2 separate regions of the Homo sapiens genome follow, and region 2 is linked to region 1. The links are contacts of gene promoters, found by promoter capture Hi-C in blood cells and fetal thymus (Javierre and others, 2016). All regions are on one chromosome and are shown on one strand. The core of a region is centred on a gene start or on the middle of the fragment in contact, and the rest is flanking DNA. Distances in the headings are between cores, read along the strand shown.

Evidence for each region. The method cuts DNA at HindIII sites, captures the fragments that hold promoters and counts their contacts. A CHiCAGO score of 5 or more calls a contact.
Region 2: a fragment that was not itself captured here is called in contact with the fragment with the promoter of SNUPN in region 1 in 3 of 17 cell types (erythroblasts, fetal thymus and endothelial precursors); the score reaches 7.0 in erythroblasts.

The regions. Positions count from the first base shown.
Region 1 is chr15:75,623,816-75,628,062 of GRCh38, reverse strand. SNUPN (snurportin 1) reads left to right here and starts at 2,338. Exons shown (of 9, transcript NM_005701.4): 1 at 2,338-2,397. RefSeq lists an enhancer at 1,970-2,159 and a silencer at 2,810-2,859. The HindIII fragment of the contact is 10,585 bases long and covers 1-4,153 here.
Region 2 is chr15:75,357,608-75,361,854 of GRCh38, reverse strand. MAN2C1 (mannosidase alpha class 2C member 1) reads left to right here. Exons shown (of 26, transcript NM_006715.4): 10 at 135-251; 11 at 474-569; 12 at 664-809; 13 at 1,167-1,290; 14 at 1,644-1,765; 15 at 1,867-1,952; 16 at 2,080-2,235; 17 at 2,430-2,527; 18 at 2,702-2,796; 19 at 3,047-3,151; 20 at 3,237-3,393; 21 at 3,511-3,654. Among named protein-coding and RNA genes, the nearest start is that of MIR631, 6.0 kb to the right of the region's middle. The HindIII fragment of the contact is 940 bases long and covers 1,442-2,381 here.

The DNA.
Region 1 (4,247 bases), core at 1,089-3,588:
AAATAAATGTAGTCAGGCTTTTTTCTTAAATTAATTGATTTAAAGACATAAAGCACAGTGTGTGCATGTGGCCAACATTCTGAAGCTGAGATTCCAGAGGTAGCCCCTTCTGAAACACCCACTGGCTCTAAATGAACCCCTGGGCCAGGTGCTCTGGTTTTTGTTTGTTTTGAGACAGAGTCTCCAGGCTGAGTGCAGTGGCAGGATCACAGCTCACTGCAGCCATGACTTCCTGGGCTCAAGTGATCCTCCCACCTCAGCCTTCCAAGTAGTTGGGATCATGACTCATACCACTACACCTAGCTAATTTTTTTTTTGTGGAGATGGGTTTTTGTCATGTTGCCCAGGCTGGTCTCAAACTCATGGGCTACTTCCACCTTGGCCTCTCAAAGTGGTGGGATTACAGGCATGAGCCACAGTGCCTGACCTGGTTTTGTTTTGTTTTTTCAGTGATATGGGAAGTTATTCAGCTAGGTGTGAGTGAGGAACTAGAACATTTCTCCTGGACCTCCAGGCATGAATTTGGGAACTTCTTTCTCAGTCTCAGTCTATTTTCCTAAAATGTTTAAGGTCTTTATTCTTTTCTATGCAGCCCGACCATTAGATGTGACCTCCGTGGTTGTAAGGGATGGTTGTTTGGACACAAAATACCTAATATCCTGGGTGTCAAAATTCCCTAGTGAAGTCAGGCCCTGGACTTCTCTTTTTTGTCAGTCTCATAAATCAGGCAGACATGAGCTTTTATTTGTGGATGCACCAAATAAATACCCTAGTGGACAGCTTTGCTCAGCCTGGCCACTGAAAGAGCCACCTAAATAAAATCTCAGGTCCAGGCCGGGTGCGGTGGCTCACGCCTTTAATCCCAGCACTTTGGGAGGCCGAGGCGGGCAGATCATGAGGTCAGGAGATCGAGACCATCCTGGCTAACACAGTGAAACCCCGTCTCTACTAAAAATACAAAAAAATTAGCCGGGCATGGTGGCAGGCGCCTGTAGTCCCAGCTACTCAGTAGGCTGAGGCAGGAGAATGGCGTGAACCCGGGAGGCGGAGCTTGCAGTGAGCGGAGATTGCGCCACTGCACTCCAGAGCCTGGGCGACAGAGCGAGACTCCATCTCAAAAAAATAAAAAAAAATCTCACGTCCAGAAAAATTGGCCTTCCAGGGCCCCAGAACCCTTTTTACCAGTCTAGTAATAGCCTTTCATCAGCCTAATTTCCTATTCTTTTTAGTCTGAATGTATGGTGTAATGTGCATAAAATACACAAGTCCAAATTTTAGCATTCCGTGGACGCAAAATGTGCCAAAGGTGGATACTTTGCTTCTGTCATACATCGGTAGTCAACTTCCCTATACATCAAACTTTCAGCAAATTCAAACATTTTCCTTGAAAGCTGTGTTACTTTGGCCAAATTACTTAACCTCTCTGAGCTTCAGTGTGTCTACTTCCTCATGTCATGATTAAGAGTTAATATCTACTGGCTTAAAAAAGAAAAAAAAGGAAAAAAATTAAATGAGATGATGGGTGTGAAGCAGGGATTGGCTGAATGTAAGCATTCAATAAATATTCAGTTTTAAAATTGTAATCTCAGCCTTCCCGCCCTGCAGAGGCTACACCCTGGCAGGACTTAATCTCCTAAATCTCTGCCGCTTACCCTAGTCTTTTGCACCAATTTAATCATTCCTTCACGCAGGGTCTACTGAGCGCCATCCCTTGTGCTGGACTCTGGCTACTTAAATAGGAATCAAGCCAGGTCCCTACCATTGCTCAGCCCGCAGCCGAGTGGGAAAGAAGCTCGCAAAAGCAGCAAACAGGCAGTAATCGAGGTATGTATCTGCTTTTGTTAAGGGCAAGTGGGGGAGCGAAGGTCTGTGTCTGAAACTTGGGTGTGAGGGGTTAGTTGGAGTAATCCAGGCAATTGGCACTGCCCGTTTAAGAGCACGGGCCCAAGAGGGGAAGGGGACTCCAGGTGAAGCCCTAAGGCCCGGGAAGATCTGCGGGAGGCGGCAGGGCCCAGGGCGTTGAATGCCCGGCCACAAGATCAGCCTCCTCCCATTGGCGAAAGGAGCCCCGAAGAGCTTGTGTTCAGGAGGGAGGCCTCGGCCTGGTCAAGTCATCTAGCAGGAAGAGTCCCGGACAGTGCAAAGCAAATGCAAGAAGACCCCCTCCCTAGCCGATGGGAAATGCCCCAGCCGTTGAAGGCGGAAATAACGGCCTGTAGGCAACGGAACTCCCAGCGTTCGCAAAGGAGGGAGGAGCCGGAAACTCAGGGCGCGAGGCCTGTGGGCCCAGCGGTGAGGCAGCAGCTGGGGGCGGGGGGAGGGCGGACCTAGCTTCCCAGGGCAGGTGATTCGTCGGCCCCGGTGGCGGCGGCGCGTGCGACGGTCACCTCGGTTTGGGTGAGTCCCTGGGTTCGAGCCCGGGCCCCGCCAGCTGCCGAGTTGCCTCTCGGTGCCGGACTGTGACTCCCTCTGGCCGGCCCTGCACTCTGGCCTCCTGGGACGTCATCTGGAGGGATAGAGCCAGGCCTGGGACTCCTTTTGGGAGAGTTTCCGTTCTTCTATTCCGTGCTGTCCGGCCAGGACCCCTCAGGGACTTCTGTGGGGCAGGGGCGAATCATGCATGGCCTAGATGACCCCATGCCTAGAAAAAGGCAGTGCGGGGCGGTGGCGGCGCGCACGGCCGAGTGAAGCAGATAGCGTCCCCGGGGCTGGAGCCCGGTAGCAGGGGTAGGGAAACGCGGAGGCTGCCAGGATGCGGACCCAGGGGACGCGAGGCGGGGGCGCCGGATGGGGAGACGCGAAGGAGGGGGAAGGGGATGGGGGAGGGGGCTAGACAGGGAGGGAGGGTGGAGCGTGGGCGGGGCCTGGGGCGGGTCGGACTTTAGGGAGTTGGAGCGGGGGTTACTGGTGCTAAGACCACCTGGGGCTAAGGTCCGAACACTTGGAGGCAGCACCATCCAAGGAATGGGTTGAAACAGCAGGAGCCCGGCGGGGCGCAGTGGCTCACGCCTGTAATCCCAGCACTTTGGGAGGCCGAGGTGGGCGGATCACCTGAGGTCAGGAGTTTGAGACCAGCCTGACCAACATGGTGAAACCCCATCTGTACTAAAAATACAAAAAAAATTAGCCGGGCGTTGTGGCGCGTGCCTGTAATCCCAGCTACTCGGGAGGCTGAGGCAGGAGAATCGCTTGAATCCGGGAGATGGAGGTTGCAGTGAGCCGAGATCATGCCACTGCACTCCAGCCTGGGCAACAAGAGCGAAACTCTGTCTCAAAAAAAAAACAACAACAACAAAGAAAAAACAAAACGAAACAGCAGGAACCCGCCAAGAACAGCCTTGAAGGAAGGTAAAGGAACCGCCCCAGTATCCAGGACATCAGTTTTTCTTTTTTTTTTCTTTTTGAGACGAAGTCCAGGCTGGAGTGCAGTGGCACGATCTCGACTCACTGCAAGCTCCGCCTTACGGGTTCAAGCCATTCTCCTGCCTCAGCCTCCCGAGCATCTGGGACTACAGGCGCCCGTCACCATGCCTGGCTAATTTTTTTGTATTTTTTTTTTTTTTTTTAGTAGAGACGGGGTTTCACTGTGTTAGCCAGGATGGTCTCGATCTCCTAACCTCAGGTGATCTGCCCGCTTCAACCTCCCAAAGTGCTGGGATTACAGGCGTGAGCCACCGCGCCAGGCCCAGGACATCAGTTTCAAAGGTTGTGTGGTTCTTGGCAGAGCGGGAGCCCACACCAAGATAGTGCATGATAGGCCTAATAAAGGTGCTTTGGATTTGGTCATTACTTTGGTGATGAACTGAAAACATAATGACTTTTTAAAAATTTTTATCGGCCGGGCGCGGTGGCTCACGCCTGTAATCCCAGCACTTTGGGAGGCCGAGGCGGGCGGATCACGAGGTCAGGAGATCGAGACCATCCCGGCTAAAACGGTGAAACCCCGTCTCTACTGAAAATACAAAAAATTAGCCGGGCGTAGTGGCGGGCGCCTGTAGTCCCAGCTACTTGGGAGGCTGAGGCAGGAGAATGGCGTGAACCCGGGAGGCGGAGCTTGCAGTGAGCCGAGATCCCGCCACTGCACTCCAGCCTGGGCGACAGAGCGAGACTCCGTCTCAAAAAAAAAAAAAAAAAAAATTTTATCATGAAAGCTTTCAAACTTACACAAAAGTACAGAAAAGTAGAGACAATAGCATACATACCATTATGGATGATTTGAATAACATACCATATGGATCCCAAGCACT
Region 2 (4,247 bases), core at 662-3,161, 270 kb after region 1:
GTAGGCTGAGAGCTGCTACACCAGGCTGTGGGCGAGTGGGGCTGGCGCTCGACTTGGAGTGCTGAGGGGCTGAGGCTGGGGTGAGTCCGCCTGGAGCTCTGGTTCCTGCACTCCAGGATCCTCTTTCTCCACAGTTCTGGCTGCCGGACACCTTTGGCTACTCAGCACAGCTCCCCCAGATCATGCACGGCTGTGGCATCAGGCGCTTTCTCACCCAGAAATTGAGCTGGAATTTGGTGAACTCCTTCCCAGTAAGCAGGCCCCCGGGGGGTCAGGGTCAGAGTGGGCCTCAGTCCCGCCTGGCCCATTTGCCTCTCCCCCTTATTGTGGGGTCCTAGACAGACCACCAAACCCTCACTCTGCCTCTGCCAGGGTCACATAGCAGGCAGGGGCAGGACCAAGTCTGGAAGGCCTGGCTCTGCCTCAGCCCTGACTCTGGCCTCTCTGCCCTGCTTCTGTTTCCCTGCTGGTAGCACCATACATTTTTCTGGGAGGGCCTGGATGGCTCCCGTGTACTGGTCCACTTCCCACCTGGCGACTCCTATGGGATGCAGGGCAGCGTGGAGGAGGTGAGGGGTCACCTAGGGTGGTGGGGTAGGGGCAGGCTGGAGAGGGCTGGCTTGTTCCAGGCTGATCCATGCTGGCCTGCCCTCACCTGTCTAGGTGCTGAAGACCGTGGCCAACAACCGGGACAAGGGGCGGGCCAACCACAGTGCCTTCCTCTTTGGCTTTGGGGATGGGGGTGGTGGCCCCACCCAGACCATGCTGGACCGCCTGAAGCGCCTGAGCAATACGGATGGGCTGCCCAGGTCAGGCCAGGCCTTGGCTCTCCTTTAGCCCCACCCTGGGCCCTTGCCATGAGCCCTGCCTTCCCTCAGACATTGGGCCCAACCCCTCCTCTGGACCTTGTCCTGTCCCAATCCTAGACCACGGGTTCCTCCAAACTTCCACCCTGGGGGTGGGTGGGGGAGAAGCTGAAGCTGGTAAGGGCTCCAGCCCATCAGAGAGAGAGGCTCTCCTAGGGCGTCCAGGGCTGGCCATCTGTGAACGGGGAGCTTTCTGGAGTGGCTCCTCTCTGTAGGAGCTGGATCCTTTGCTTTGGTGTGGAAGAAGGGTGAGCCATGTGGTCTCCAAGGCTGGGAGACCTAGGCTTGTGGTCTCCTCAGGGTGCAGCTATCTTCTCCAAGACAGCTCTTCTCAGCACTGGAGAGTGACTCAGAGCAGCTGTGCACGTGGGTTGGGGAGCTCTTCTTGGAGCTGCACAATGGCACATACACCACCCATGCCCAGGTCAGGGGGAGGTTGCAGGGCTGTGCAGGGAGGGTGTGCCCTTGATCTGCAGAGGGTCAGAGAAGGCAGCAGGGGACAGAGCCCAGGCCAGATCTAGGGGAAGAGAAGTTTGGAGGAGAGAAGTTCAAGACCTGGGTTGGTCAAGAAAGCTTGAAGGAGGCAGAAACCCCTGAAGAAAGAAGGGTTTGGGCTGCGGGGAGAAGAGGGAAGGCATTTAAGGCAGGTCACCCGCCAGAGGCCTTCTCCACGAGGCCCTTGGTGAGTCCTCAGGGATTCTGAGCAAGGGAGGGCTTTGGAAGGTGTCCTGGGACAGCTAAGCAGGCTCCAGACTAATCTTCCCATCCTGGGCTCAGATCAAGAAGGGGAACCGGGAATGTGAGCGGATCCTGCACGACGTGGAGCTGCTCAGTAGCCTGGCCCTGGCCCGCAGTGCCCAGTTCCTATACCCAGCAGCCCAGCTGCAGCACCTCTGGAGGTCAGCCCAGTTCTGTCCCTGCCATCCACCTGACTGCTCACTGCAGTTACCTCTGTGCCTGCCCCTCCCAGCCTTCCCATCCCTGCCCTTGGCCCCTGCAGGCTCCTTCTTCTGAACCAGTTCCATGATGTGGTGACTGGAAGCTGCATCCAGATGGTGGCAGAGGAAGCCATGTGCCATTATGAAGGTTAGGCTCACAATAGTCCTGCCTGCTCTCTCCAACCCCAGGGCTGAGCCCAGAGTGTCCCCTGTGGGATACCCATGGGCACATTCCAGACCTGTTGCCCACCTATGACCAGCCAGTCTTTCCTCAGACATCCGTTCCCATGGCAATACACTGCTCAGCGCTGCAGCCGCAGCCCTGTGTGCTGGGGAGCCAGGTCCTGAGGGCCTCCTCATCGTCAACACACTGCCCTGGAAGCGGATCGAAGTGATGGCCCTGCCCAAACCGGGCGGGGCCCACAGCCTAGGTACGAGCTGAGGGGAAGGGTTGCTACTGCAGCAGGAAGGATGGAGGCCAGACAGATCAGGCCTGGGATACCCCGAGGGATCTGGGTGCCCCTGACTGGAGAGTAGTAGCACATCTTCCACCAACCCATCCCCACCTGCGCAAGCTTCCTGAAAGGTCAGGAAGGCTGCACTGATGCCCAGGCCTCACCCCCAGCCCTGGTGACAGTGCCCAGCATGGGCTATGCTCCTGTTCCTCCCCCCACCTCACTGCAGCCCCTGCTGCCCCAGCAGCCTGTGTTCGTAGTGCAAGAGGTGAGTCCTGCATGCCCTGGGGGGCAGGAACTGTGCTGGGATACTTTCTTACAACTGAGGGTCCTGAGCTCCCCTGTCTGGAGCAAGTGGTGAGGCGGGGCTGGGGTTGGGGTGGGAAGACTTTTGGTGTGGGAAGCCCCTACAGACTCAGCCTCAAGGCCTCCTCCCACAAAGACTGATGGCTCCGTGACTCTGGACAATGGCATCATCCGAGTGAAGCTGGACCCAACTGGTCGCCTGACGTCCTTGGTCCTGGTGGCCTCTGGCAGGTGCCAAATCCTCATTGCCCTTTCCCAGTGCCTGGCAAGTAGACCCCAGGCCATTTCCTCTCTCCCCTTGCCACAACACTGCCCACAGCAGCCCACCAGTGGCTCTGGGCTGGAACCCACACATGGAGCAGGGCAGGCTGGGCAGTAGTCCCCTGTCCACTGGGTCTACTCACTCCACCCTACCCCACCAAGAGCAGCTGGAGACAGCGAGGTCAGTTGGTTGTACAGCACCAATCCCATGTCCTTCCAGGGAGGCCATTGCTGAGGGCGCCGTGGGGAACCAGTTTGTGCTATTTGATGATGTCCCCTTGTACTGGGATGCATGGGACGTCATGGACTACCACCTGGAGACACGGTATAGGCTGGGCAGCATGTGGGGATGGTGGAGGTGGTGGGAACACAGGCTGCTCTGGATCAGTATGTCCACCCCTGTCCCATAGGAAGCCTGTGCTGGGCCAGGCAGGGACCCTGGCAGTGGGCACCGAGGGCGGCCTGCGGGGCAGCGCCTGGTTCTTGCTACAGATCAGCCCCAACAGTCGGCTTAGCCAGGAGGTTGTGCTGGACGTTGGCTGCCCCTATGTCCGCTTCCACACCGAGGTAGTCGGGGGGTAGGGGGTGGCTGTTTTCCCCAAGTGTGCTTGGTAAGGAGGGGCCAGCCCCAGGCCTTGGTGTGTCTCTTCCTTCCCTGACTCCCACCCTCCTTCCCACTCCCAGGTACACTGGCATGAGGCCCACAAGTTCCTGAAGGTGGAGTTCCCTGCTCGCGTGCGGAGTTCCCAGGCCACCTATGAGATCCAGTTTGGGCACCTGCAGCGACCTACCCACTACAATACCTCTTGGGACTGGGCTCGATTTGAGGTCTGACATGGCAGGGTGGGAGTGGCCTTGGACTCCTCCCTGGCTGGGGAGACTGCTTGTGTGGAACAGGCTGGGGAGGAAGAGGATAATCAACATTTGCTGCTTCCTAACGTGTGTGCCAGGCATTGCACTAAATGCTTTACATTGGCAAGGCACAGTGGCTCACGCCTGTAATTCCAGCACTTTGGGAGGCCGAGGTGGGTGGATCACCTGAGGTCAGGAGTTCAAGACCAGCCTGGCCAACATGGTGAAACGCCATCTCTACTAAAAATACAAAAATTGGGCCGGGCGTGGTGACTCACGCCTGTAATCCCAGCAGTTTGGGAGGCTGAGGTGGGTGGATCACGAGGTCAAGAGATCGAGACCATCCTGGCTAACACGATGAAACCCTGTCTCTACTAAAAATACAAAAATTTAGCCGGGTGTGGTGGTGGGCGCCTGTAGTCCCAGCTACTTGGGAGGCTGAGGCAGGAGAATGGCGTGAATCTGGGAGGCAGAGCTTGCAGTGAGCCAAGATCGTGCCACTGCACTCCAGCCTGGGCGACAGAGCGAGACTCTGTCTCAAAAAAAAAAAAAAAAAAAATACAAAAATT